Regions from separate parts of the Homo sapiens genome. Here region 2 is linked to region 1. The links are contacts of gene promoters, found by promoter capture Hi-C in human tissues and cell types (Jung and others, 2019). All regions are on one chromosome and are shown on one strand. Each heading gives the region's core, a stretch centred on a gene start or on the middle of the fragment in contact. The rest is flanking DNA. Distances are from core to core; before and after follow the strand shown. Region 1 holds the start of NFIC (nuclear factor I C). Region 2 holds the start of REXO1 (RNA exonuclease 1 homolog).

Region 1 (6,459 bases), core at 774-3,273:
GGGAGCCCCCTGCACTTGGGACTCGCTGTCCCCACTCTGGCCTGGGAGCTCTCTGCCTCTGTCTCTCTGCCTGTCTCTGTCTTCTCATCTCTGTCTCTTGCACGCAGCACCCCTGGATAGTTTTTAGTTTTTAGCCTCTCCGTTTTTTGGTTTCCACAGACAGCCCTCCTGGCTGGTCCTTGCCCTGTTCCTGGAGAAACTGAGGCCGAGTTAGCAATTCTCTGAGGCAAAGCCTGGACTGGGGTTCTTACTAACCCCCAACCCACCCCAGCAACCAGGATGTCTCCCAACCAGCCCTGATGGGGGAATTCCAGGGTGCACAGGCAGCCTTCCAACCTCCCCAGCCTGGAACAGCCTCCCCTCCGCTCAGCCCTCCCAAATGGCTCCTTCCAGCTGGTGAGGACAGAGCGGGGACACCTCAGTCACCCCACAAGCCCAGAGACTTCAAAGGCTGCCCGAGGTCACACAGCGTGCCCACTCGAACCCTAGTTGTTCTTGGAGAACTTCAAAGAGATGCCTTCTTCGGGAACCCCCCCCCCAAAGCTGCTCAGAAAGGGAAACTGAGGCTGGGACAGGGACTTACCCAAGGTCACTCAGGGGATCACAGGTAGGACAGACCTCAGACCCCCTCAGCACCAGCTCCCACATTCCCTGTCGGCTGCAGGGGGCCGGTGAGAAAGACCCTACCAAGGAGCATGCCTGGCGTGGGGGGTCCCTCACTGCACCATGCCCTGGAGCGGAAGCCGGGGACTCATATACTCCCCACACAGTGCTTCTTAAGACGGGCCTGGCCCTCGCTGGAATCGCACCCCCCACGTGCCGGGACTTTACAGTTTGCCCGCCATACTGTCCCCTCTCCAGAACCGGCCTTAGCCGCACCTCACTTCAGGGGAAACTGAGGCCAGAACCTCTCCAGCCTAAAGACACACTGCGTAAGGAGGAAAGCAGCGGTCTAGAAAACGGAACTTGCAGACCTCGGGGTCCCCGGGAGCCTGGGCTGGAAGGAGTCCCCGGGGGGAGCCGCCCCCTCCCCACACACCCCCTCGGCCATTGCACAAGGCTCGGCCCCGGGGCAGTCTGGGAGTGCGGCCAGGGGTGAGAGGCTACGGGAGGGGGAGGGGGAGGGGGAGGGGACGGGGCAGGTGCCGGGCTGGCGAGGGCGTCCGCAGCGCCGCAGTGCCCGGGCCAGACCCGGAGCGCCGGGCCTCCCGCTCCTCCCGGCGGCGGCTCCAGAATCCAGAATCCAGAATCCAGAATCGATGCAGCGAAAATACCGGGACGGTGCTGGGGGGCTTGCAAAGGAGGGGGGACCCAGCCGGGCCGCCGGAGCACCCTTCCCCCTCCTGGGCCTCCAACTTCTCCTGCCCCCTCCCCCTCCATGCACACGTGGGCCAATAACGAGGGAAAGGCGACCGAGGGCCAGGGCGGCCCGCACAACCTTGGTGGGGGGACACGGGGAAAACACATGAGAGGTCCCTTTCTCTCCAGCTGGGGAGACCCAGGGTCCAATCACGACCCCCTAGATTCCTCTCAGAGGCAGGCGGGGGGCTTCCCGCAGAGCCCTTGCTGGAGGGGGGCCAGCCCCCACCCCGACCTTTCCGAGTGTCGGGGCGGGGGTGCGGAGTGCGTCGGTGTGTGGGGGGGGGACGCAAATCTGCAGACCAAGCCCCACATCCGGGAGAGGTCCCGAGAGTCGGGGTTGGGGGTGCTGGGCGGGAGTCCCGCGTAGGGGGTCCGCGGTAGGTAAGGGTGTGGGGGGGGTACCCCAGCCTGACCCATCCCCCCACCGGACCCCAGCCCTCGGCGCGGGGGGCATCCCGGGCAGGGATGGCGGGAGGGACGCGCGCCTTTTTCGTCCCGCCTCCTCCTGCTTCAAAACTCCGGGGCTGGGATGCGGGGGGCGCGGGGGCGCCGGCGGGGGGCCGGGCGAGGACCGTACCTGGGTGAGGCAGAGCGGGGACGAATACATCCCGGGCGCGGCGGGAGGCGCAGGGCCGGCCGGAGCGGGCGCGCTGAACTTACTGAGTCATTTTTCCAAACCACCCCCCCGCCCCCCCCAACCCCCCCCCCCGCCCCGCGGCCGGCGCGCTCTCCTCGCCGCCTCCTCCCTCGGTCTCCCTCCTCCTCCCTCCTGCTCTCCCTCTCTCGCGCCGCCCGCCTCGCTCTCTGTCCCTCTCTCCCTCCGTCTCTCTCTTCCTCTCTCCCCCGTCTCTGTCTCTCTGTCTCTCTCTCTACCCTCTGACACCCTCCCCCTCCCACCCCGAACCTCCCACTTCTCAACACCCAACTTTCAAAGAAACGAGGGAAAAAAGGGCGCGAGCGAGAAAGGAGAGCCTCCCCCGACGTCTCAGGACCCCCCCGCTCCTCCCGTATTTACGCAATGCCCCAGGGCACTAGACCAGGACCCCAGGACTGCAGGGCGACCCCAATTCGGATCAAGCGGAGAGGGGGGACAGGGTTGTTTCTGGACATTGAGGGGCCAGGGGTGGATTTTTAAGGCCCCCCCTCCCCACCCCCCCATCACCCCCGAGCTGGCCGGGAAGTTGGAGGAAAGAGCCAGGGGGGAGGGAAGGAATGAAGAAGTGACGTGCGCAGAGGCCGGCCAGCGCGCCTCTTTCCCCTTAAAGATGTACGACCCTGGGTGCACGGTGAGCTGGTCCCACAGCACCCTGGCTCCCTTCTCCCCCCAGAGCCAGGCAGGGGCTGCGGGTCCCCAGCTAGAGGGGCTTGTGTGCAGCTGTCCCTTCCTTGGCCAGAAGGGCCCAGGCTAACACGGGAGGCTCCAGAATTTGCTCTCTTCACCCAGCACCCAAGGGGCAGGGGAGGGGTGGCCTCGCCTGTGTGTCTCTCCAGCACCCCAGGAGGACGGTGTCCAGGCGGGATCTCCAGCTGGCCAGATAAACCCTTGCAGCCTCCCCCTGGGTATCCAATAATTTCCACCTGCCTCAGGGGTGTGCCCTTTTCACAGATCTCAAGACTGAGGTATGGCAAGTGTGGCTTGGAGCCAGGCCATCTGGACCTGGAGCCCACATTCTGTTCTCCTTCTAGACGTAACAGGGCAGAGACCTGGCCTGCCTCCGTCTGAGCCCCCAGGGCATCTGATGACAGGGCCCCAACCCTCCCCCGGTTCACTCCCTGGATCCTCCCAGGCTAGCTCAGAGGCTGCTGTGTCTCTCATTCCCATCCCAAGGGTTCTCCCCTATAAAGTGGCTTAAAGATGCCCATCCTGTGGGATTGCTGGGGATAAGGACAATGACCTTAGCAGAGCCTTGACCTTGGGTCAAATGTTCACTAAAGACACATTCTTAGAAAGCTTGGCCATTTCACCTCATCTCTCTGAGCTTCCCAAGGACAAATGATACCCTCTCACCAAGCTGGGGCAGGTGCCCCAGGCCCAGGGGCGCAGAAGATACCAGCACCCATTATCCTCAGGCATTACAGGAGAGGAAACTGAGGCCCAGAGAACGGAAGCCACTTGCCCAGGGTCTGACAGGTAAACTAGGAGGGAGCAGAATTCCTGCAGCGTAGGTTCCCTAGGCCCCCCACAGGCTCCCCTCTGCATGACGGTGACATTATTCAAACAGTGCTTAGTACATCACGAACGGTCCATAAATGTGTGTGTCTGTGTATTTTAAACCCACTGTGCAGCTGTGGGGAGCATTTGAATTAAATGGTGAGAAGTGTATCTGGAAATCCACATACCAATATAACGTGAAGCAATTTATTTTATTAAAACACGCTAGGGACACATACAGGGTGAAATCTAAAATTCACAGATATTTAAAAGTTGCAGTTGACTTCAGACACTCCTCCTAGACTTCCAGACCCCGTGCCTTCCACCCTCCCTCCCCTGTACAGACCACCCTGCCTGCAGCCTTCATTCAGCAGCTTAGAATCCTTTGGAAGGTGAAGTTTAGAGAGCAGAGACTGCCCCTCTTGGAACCTCGGTTTCCTCATCTGTAAAATGGCTATAGTAACAGGATGCATCTTGGGAGGTGGGGAAGGTTGGAGTCTTTACATAGCATGTGGGAAGGCTGTGTGAATATTATTGGTGGCGGTAGCTGCAGGGAGAAACTTCTGCAAGTGTACGAACAGCAGCCTATATCCCAGTTTGGGTGGCAAGGGACCCCCGCAGCACACACAGTTGGTTCCCTAAATTGCCGCGTGGGCTCGCTGCTTGGGTCTATGTCTCCTCCAGTCAGCAGCTTCGTCTCTCTGCACCTCGGCTCTCCCTCTGTGAAATGGGGCGACGCCAGCTCATAACCCTCCAGGTTGTAGGCAAGTCAGCAAATACCTGCCCGTGGTTACAACAGGGAACTGTACGTCATAGTTTCTTTAAAAAGGCAATTGGTAGATTGGGACCTGCATGTGGAGGGCCCGGAAGATGGGTGCATGATTTAGCTCCTGGCACTTTCGAGCACAATCTGGCTCATTTTTTTTTTTTTTCAAAGCACTCTCTCTACAGTTATTTCACTCTTCGGCATCTCTGTAACTGTCCCAGATACAGGAGCACAAAAGAGTTGACTGCCACCTATAAAACTAATGCCCACAATTTGGAGGCAGCCATGCTGTCCATCTGTGGGGGACCGGTTTAGTAATCCCAACACAGGCTGGGACACTATGCAGCTGAGTAAAACCAGTGGCTCCCAACTGGTTATGTCCCCAAGAGACAAGTGGGGGGACAGAAAGCTGGAGAGCTCTCCCCCTTGGCACTGTGGACACTGGGGCTGGATCGCTCTCTGGGTTGGGGCCGTCCTGGGCCCTGCAGGGTGCTGAGCAGAGTCCATGGCCTCCACCCACTCCATGCCAGGGGCACCCCCCAGTCGTGACAACCACAAATGTCCTTAGACATGGCTAAGTGTCCCATGGGAACAGAATCAACCCTGGCTGAGACCCCACTGCTGTAGACCCAGCAAGGAAATTCAAGATCTCATTTAGGGTTTTAAAGAGTACACATGTATTTATACAAATATACATAGTATCCTTTACATACACACACATGCACACACACCCACACACACACATATCTCCTTTGGCCGGTTGTAGTGGCTCACGCCTGTAATCCCAACACTTTGGGAGGCCGAGGCAGGCAGATCACTTGAGGTCAGGAGTTTAAAATCAGCCTGGCCAACATGGCGAAACCCCGTCTCTACTAAAATTACAAAAATTAGCCGGGCATGGGCGAGGGTGCCTGTAATGTCAGCTACTCGGGAGGCTGAGGCTGGAGGTTCGCTTGAACTCGGGAGGTGGAGGTTGCAGTGAGCCAGGATCATGCCATTGCACTCCAGCCTGGGCAACAGAGCGAAACTCCATCTCAAAAAAAAAAAAAAAAAAAATATATATATATATATATATATATATATACACACACATACACATACATATACATATGTCTCCTTTATGGAAATACACGAGTATTTCCACAAGTACATCCTTTATGGAAATATACACATATGCACATGTATCCTCTATAAGTGTGTATTTCTCAGTCCTGCAAATGCTCCAACTATAGATGGTAACATTCTGGAGCGGGGTTCCACCCAGGAATGGGGGTGATCAGAAAGATTGGATTTTTTTTCCTCTGGATACAGTTGTATCCTCTTCATATGATCACTAATGGCTTCAGTAATTAAAGGAAAACTTAAAAAGTTGAATGCAATTCACAGAGCAGCTCAGGCAGGGTAGACAGGAACCCCCAGCCCCCCATGGTAACCCCACAGCCACCACACCCAGAGAATAAAGGACATAATCTTGCAGGCAAATGATTACACAGCAGTGCAGTGTGCAGTCAGCCTCCCCTAGCCCCGCACCTGCTCAGCAAGGGGCTCACAATGTCAGCTCCCCAGGAACCTTGCAAGGGTCCCATGTGGTCCCATTTTACAGATGAGAAACTGAGGCTGTAAGAAGGGATGTTAAAGTCAAGTGAGTTAAAGGTCAGATAGGCCGTTGAGGCTGGTACAGATAGACACACACACCACACACTACGACCTACAGAGACACACAGACACACATCGTGCAGACTCAAGCAGCTGCAGACACAGACTCCACACGACACACAGCTACATACACAAAGACACAAATACACGCACAGACTCACATAAAAACAGACCCATATATCATCACAGCCTTCCCCCCACACCTGACCTCAGATACCTCCTCAAAGAGGGGCGAGCAGAGACACACACACACACACACAGACCCACATGGCACACACACAGCCACAAACACACCCTCCCAACTCCCCACAGGACGCTTCTTGACAAGCACAACGCATGGATATAGCTGCCCCCACACAAGTGCAGACACAACCACAAACACATGGGCACTTGTCCACAATCACAGACACACTCCACACAAAAGCACACACTCTTACAAGCACACACACACCCACAAGTGGAACCCCCCGGTATTCCCATACAGGCACACACAGAGTCACATACGCACCATCACAATGACACA
Region 2 (6,459 bases), core at 1,438-3,937, 1.5 Mb after region 1:
CCGCCTTTCCCTGCTGTAAGGGCTTCCACCGCGACGGTCTAGCCTCCTCACGACTCACCTGAACCAGTGCAATCACCTTGGCCCTGGTCTCCTCACGGTTTGTCCTCCCCACGGCCACCAGAGGGTGTCCGTGAACACCTGGGGCAAGTCTGGTTCCTCCTCTGCCCGCAACCCTCCATGGCTCCCACTGCCCTCACAGTCAAAGCCCAAGTCCTCCCTGAGGCCCATAGGGTTCTGCATGACCTGCCCCGTCCTCTCCCTGCTCTTCCCTCCTGCCTCTCTCCCCCTCCTCACCCTGGTCCAGCCACACTGGCCTCCTCGCTGTTCCTCCAACACACCAGGCGCAGTCCTGCCCATGGCCTGTGCCCTCTGCCCGGAATGCTTTTCCTCCAGAAGCCTGCTTGGCTCCCTCATCATCTTTTATTTATTTATTTATCTTTTATTTTTTCGAGACACTGTCTCACTCTGTCACCCAGGCTGGAGTGCAGTGGTGCAATCTTGGCTCACTGCAACCTCCGCCTCCCAGGTTCAAGGGATTCTCCTGCCTCAGCCTCCCGAGTAGCTGGGATTACAGGCATGGGCCACCACACCCAGCTAATTTTTGTAATTTTAGTAGAGATGGGGTTTCACCATGTTAGTCAGGCTGGTCTCGAACTCCTGACCTCAAGTGATCTGCCTGCCTCAGCCTCCCAAAGTGCTGGGATTACAGGCGAGAGGCACCATGCCTGGCCCCTAATTTTCTGTAAAACCGCACAAATCCCGCCTTCCCCATAGAATCACCCAGACCAGCCCTGTGCCCAGTCCAGGCTCTTCTCCTGTTTCTGTTCTCAAAGCACTTTCCACCTGGCTTCAGGCTGTCTCACTTATTGCTGTGTTCATTGTCGGCCTCCCTGCCTACACCATCACCTCCACCAGAGTGGGGTTCTCTGCTCTGCTTATGGATGTTTCTAGCATTTTGTGGCACACAGTAGGTGCTCAGTAACTATTTGCTGAATGAATGACCGACACCAGCCGGCACGGATGGAGCAATCGCATAAATGAGAGTTCATCTCTCACGCATCATCAGGAGCCATGACAGGGAGTCTACGCCTCCACTGCCCATGATAGGACAGCTTTGAGATTAGATCAGGTCCTCTGCAGAGTCGCCCATGACCCATCCCAACCCACGTCCCCTCATCATTGCATCCTGTCATTTATTTATAATTGTGGTAAAATCACATGCACATAACATAAAATTTGTCATCTTAACCATTGTATTGTTATTTGAGACGGACTGTCACTCTGTCACCCAGGCTGGAGTGCAGTGGTGCAATCTTGGCTCACTGCAACCTCCGCTTCCCAGGTTCAAGTGATTCTCCTGCTTCAGCCTCCCAAGTAGTTGGGACTACAGGCGCCCGCCACCACGCCCAGCTAATTTTTGTATTTTTAATAGAGGTGGGGTTTCGCCATCTTGGCCAGGCTGGTCTCAAACTCCTGACCTCGGTTGATCTTCCCTCCTCGGCCTCCCAAAGAGCTGGGATTACAGGCGTGAGCCATCGCGCCCAGCTAATTTTTGTATTTTTAGTAGGACAGGGTTTTGCCATATTGGCCAAGCTGGTCTTGAAATCCTGGGCTCAAGTGATCCACCCGCCTCAGCCTCCCAGAGTGTTGGGATTACAGACATGAGCCACTGTGCCCGACCTAAGACTTTGCTTTCTATTCTTTTTGGGTGTATACCCAGGAATAGAGTTGCTCATAGGGTAATTCTGTTTAACTTTTTCCATCTCTACACAAAATACAAAAAATTAGCCAGGCATGATGGTGCACACCTGTGGTTTTAGCTACTCGGGAGGCTGAGGTGGGAGAATCACCTGAGCCAGGGAAGTCGAGGCTGCAGTGAGCCGTGATCGCACCACTGCTCTCCAGCCTGGGTGACAGAGCAAGACCCTGTCTCTTAAAAACAAACTTTTTGGGTTTTTTGTTTTACATAGCAGTGGCACTATTTTACAATCCCACCAAAATGCACCAGGTTAAACTTCCCATTAAGACGTGGGCCTACTCCACCAGACTACAGAGTTGCCCCATCCCAGCCTTGTTCCTCGTTTGTCTGTTAAAATGCACCCTCTAGCTGGTATACAGTAGGCGCTCAATATTTGTTGAACAAATGAGTGAACGTGGACCTGGTCATTAGACTGATGACAAGAGTCGAGGTTGGGGAGATTAAGGCGTTTCTTGAGAGCCAGCTGTATACCAGGGCGAGGGGATTTTTAAAGACTGTGAACGGAGTAATTCAACCATGAGTTTCACCTGGCCCAGGTTTAAGGCCACCTCCCCGCAGAACTCTCCTCGTCCAGCAGAGGGCGCCTTAAGGTGATATGCTAACGAAAGGAAATAATATGCAAATGAGTAATAGCGGGCCCCGCGGGGCTTTTTTGGTCAGGCGCGCCGTGGACAGCCCTGGCGCCGCAGGGGCCTGGGGCTCAAGATGGCGCCGCTACAGCCGCCGAAGGTCGGGCGGCGGCGCTGGCGAGGCTCCCGGAGACCGCAGGCAGGGCAGCCCCTGCCCTCCTTACTTCCTCCCGCGGCCGTCTGTCCCGGCCCAGGGGTCCGTCACCAGCCTTGGTCGCGCAGGAGCAGGCGTTTCTGAGCAGGCGCGCTGCGGGCAGCCCCTCCCGGGGTCCCTTGCGGCGGCGTCCCGAGGGCCTCCGGGGGCCTCGGAGCAAGATGGCGGCGGCGGGGTCCGTGAGGCGCGGGCGGCGGCGACCGCGGCGCCAGTGAGGGGGCCCTGGGGCCCGGGCGGCTCCGGGCCGGGGCCCCGCCGCGGGACGGACCATGCTACGCTCCACTGGCTTCTTCCGGGCCATTGACTGCCCCTATTGGTCTGGGGCGCCCGGGGGGCCCTGCCGGCGGCCCTACTGCCACTTCCGGCACCGCGGGGCCCGGGGCTCCGGCGCGCCCGGTGACGGCGGAGAGGCGCCCCCCGCAGCAGGTAATGCCCGCCCGCCTGCTTGCCTTGGGCTCGGCTCCCCTGCCCGGGTCTGGACCCCACCCCGGTCCCGCCCGGGGTCCCCGTTCTCGGCCCAGCCTCCTCCCCACACGTTCGCGGGCGACGGTTTTCCCAGTCGGGACCGGAACCACCCACCCTGGGACCCGGTGCAAAGCACTAGATGTCCCTAAGCCTTCGTCTTCACGAGTGTGAAATGTCAACTAGGAGGACGCGTCCTGCCAGGGCTGTCTAGAGGGCGGAGTGCGAGCGCATGTTGAGTACCGGGCACCGGGCCTGACACAAGGGGGCTCGGGAGACGGGCGCGGCCGGCGCTAGGCAGGTCCTGGACTCCTCCTGCCCCTGATTGGCGCCCGCCGCTTCCCGGACCCCATGTGCTTGTGGCCGCCCTTGTTTATTTCCATGACGTTTCCTCCGGCCGCGCCTCTGGCAGCGGCCACCTCAGTCTCCAGTCGTTGAGTTAGGATGGTCCGAGGATCGTCTCTTGTGTTTGTCGAGCCCTGTGTCCAGCATGACTGGCAGGGAGGAAGTCAAAGCTTACTCGAGTGGGCTCCGAGGAATTCCATGCTTTTGGTCGGGCAGAGGACGTTGGTGGACTCCACCTCACAGCGTCATGGTGGTTTTCATCGTCATGGCAGCGTTTCTTGGAGGAGATGTGGGATTTGGATTGGAGAAAAAGAGGGACATCGCAAGGAAAGTCGTGGAGGGAGGGTTATCGAGTGTGATGTCATTCAGACTCCCCTGTTACCTCTGTCCCTTGATAGTGGCTCTCTGCTTCACCCAGCCCCTGACTTCCTTCGTCCCAGATTTCCTCATTGGGCGTGAGTTTCAAGCACTGTTTTTACTTTAACCATGAAACAGTCTCAGCTCAGAACCTTTTCCTGCAAAAGAGAAACATCTTCTCTAGGATTTAAGAATAGGTTTATTTTCCTGTTTTGCCAGAAAAGGTAGCATTTTTTTCTGATTTCCCTGATAAGTGTGCTTGGGACACCTGCACCTGTGGGCGGTTGTTTGCAGGTGGACAGATGCAAGCAATCACTTGTCAGCTCCCCACAGCCCAGCGTCTTCGCTGTGTTTGAGGCGGGGGATTCAGAGCTGCGTACGATGCCGGCTGTGCTCTCAGGGACCTGCCGACAGCTGTGCCTACAGATCCCGTAGCATAGGTCGTGATGTCCTGGGAGCACGCAGCCGGCTTTGGCGGGGGCTGGGAGTTGGTGAAGAAGGCAACGCGTGGGAGAGGCTTCTCGGAGGCTGTGACACCAGACTCACGATGCTCATTTTAACCCTATTTTTAGAGACAGGGTCTCACTCTATAGTCCAGGCTGGAGTGCAGTGGTGCGATCACAGCTCTTTGAGGCCTCGACCTCCTGGGCTCAAGGGATCCTCCTGCCTGAACCTCCTGAGTAGCTGGGACTATGGGCGGCGGGTGCCACCAAGCCTGGCTAACTTTGTATGTTTTCGTGGAGATAGGGTCTCGCTATGTTGTCCAGGCTTGTCTCAAAACTCCTGGCCTCGAGCCGACCTCCTGCTTCGGCCTCCCAAAGTGCTGGGGTTACAGGTGTGAGCTACTGCACCCGGCGCAAGTCAGGCTTATGATATCTGTCTGCATCCCAAATGGCTCATTTGTTTCCCAAAGGCTTATTTTTGAGGGTCCCTTTGGTGATGTCGTCTTCCTGTCTGCCCCCCGTTCCTATGGGAAAAAGGCAGCTGCCTGCCTCTTACCATGGCGTGTCTGCATTTCCCTTTTGCTGGTGAGAATGAACTCCTTTTCCCATCTCTGGTGGGGTGGTAGGGCTTCTTGTTACTGTCTGGTAGAAGACTGCCTCCCCCCGCAGAAGGCAGGATCCATCTTCCTTGCGGTGAGGTTTCTCTGACCCTCTGTTTCCGCCTCCGTGACATGTTCATCAGGCTGCCCTCTGAGGACAGGGGGGGATGCATGTCCCATGTCCACACCTCCAGATTTACACACACCCAGTTTCCTATGAGATTTGAAGAGGCTGGCGTGATCTAGCCTTTGCCATGTCTTCTCAAGGGGATTTTAGGGTGCACAGGGCAGCGGCCTCCAGAGAGGAGATAGACAGGAACGCTGGCCTCCCAGGATTGAGAGTGGACAGAGGTTCAGGTGAAAAGCCCTCAGCTAGCCCTGGAGCACCTGTGGGGCCATGCTCTGTGCTGGACACGCGCTGCATGGTGACCCTGTGAGCTATTTGCTGCCGGTGGGGAAACGGAGGCTTATCGAGGAACGTGTTTTGCCCATACTACCACCTGGCCAGGGCAGGGCTGGAGCCTCCAGGGCCTCTGGGAGAAGGAGAGGGCATCTGATGAGGGCACCAAGGCAGGCAGGGTTGGGAGGCTTGGCGGAGCTGCGACGGGAACAGGAAGGTGGCTGGTGCTCCTGGGCCCTGGGTCACAGGCTCAGCGGGTCATTGGCGACCTTGAGCAGCACTGCTGAAGGACTCAGGTTTCCTTCTGGGCTCTTATCCCTGGACCTGCTCAGCCATTTTATTTAATGAATTAATTTTTGAGACAGGGTCTCACTTTATCACCCAGGCTGGAGTGCAGTGGTGCGATCACAGCTTACTGCAGCCTCGACCTCCTGGACTCAAGGGATCCACCTGGCTCAGCCTCCTGACTAGCTGAGACCACAGGCATGTGACATCACACCTCGCTAATGTTTAAAATTTTTGCCGAGACGGGGTCTCACTTTGTTGCCCATGCTGGTCTTGAGCTCCTGGACTCAAGCGATCCTCTCTCCTCAGCCTCCTGAAGTGCTGGGATGACAGGCGTGAAGCACCGCGCTGGGCTGCACAGCCATTTCAGAGCCGGCTGGACCTGCCCAGGGTGGCTTGGAGGGATGGTCCAGCAGCCCTTACGGCGGGCACCGTGTAGCCCTGGGACGCAGGGATGTGCATCCCCGGCCTAGAGGGGCACGTTCTATCCCAGCCTTGTGAGTTGGGAATGAGCGTTACTATCCCCCCAGTGGCCGCTCTCTGCTGCCTGGGCCTTGGCTGCAGCCTGGTGGTAGGTGAGGGGCCTCGGTTGTCTATGTGGAGTGGGCAGGGCTAGATCCCACCTTCCTCCCATCTGACCTCAGAACCCAGGCCTCTGCCCACTGCCCCGCACTCCCTGTGGTGTCTCAGGGAGTCTGTGTCCTACTGAGAGGCAGGACACTGTCTTCCAGGAGAGGGAACCCTTCCGGGGAGGATTGCAGGAAAGTCCAGGGCTCTCCAGAGGTGCGGTGGGCCCCAGCTCAGGGCTTCACAGCTCCGGCAGGAACGTGCTCCCAGATGATGCTTCTCCTGAGGGAGGCAGAGGCTGAGGGCACCACGTTGAGGGGATGCTAGTGCTGCGCCACAGGCTGACTCAGGCCCCAGCAGGACAGTCCCAGGCCTGGGGAAGGGGCCATCCTATACTGCAAAGTGAGCGGCAGACGTGTGTGCGGGGCGCACAGCTCCTGCCCTCGGGGATCCCGCAGT

The links. The method cuts DNA at HindIII sites, captures the fragments that hold promoters and counts their contacts. A contact is called where the count stands out against the background at its distance.
Region 2: the fragment with the promoter of REXO1 here is called in contact with the fragment with the promoter of NFIC in region 1 in 1 of the 25 tissues and cell types used here (spleen).

The regions. Positions count from the first base shown.
Region 1 is chr19:3,362,147-3,368,605 of GRCh38, reverse strand. NFIC (nuclear factor I C) reads right to left here and starts at 2,023. Exons shown (of 11, transcript NM_001245002.2): 1 at 1,940-2,023. The coding sequence starts at 1,969. RefSeq lists silencers at 1,015-1,414, 1,705-1,854, 2,305-2,394. The HindIII fragment of the contact is 27,364 bases long and covers 1-6,459 here.
Region 2 is chr19:1,844,711-1,851,169 of GRCh38, reverse strand. REXO1 (RNA exonuclease 1 homolog) reads left to right here and starts at 2,687. Exons shown (of 16, transcript NM_020695.4): 1 at 2,687-2,968. The coding sequence starts at 2,812. RefSeq lists enhancers at 2,220-2,299, 2,320-2,469 and a silencer at 2,490-2,959. The HindIII fragment of the contact is 7,366 bases long and covers 1-5,690 here.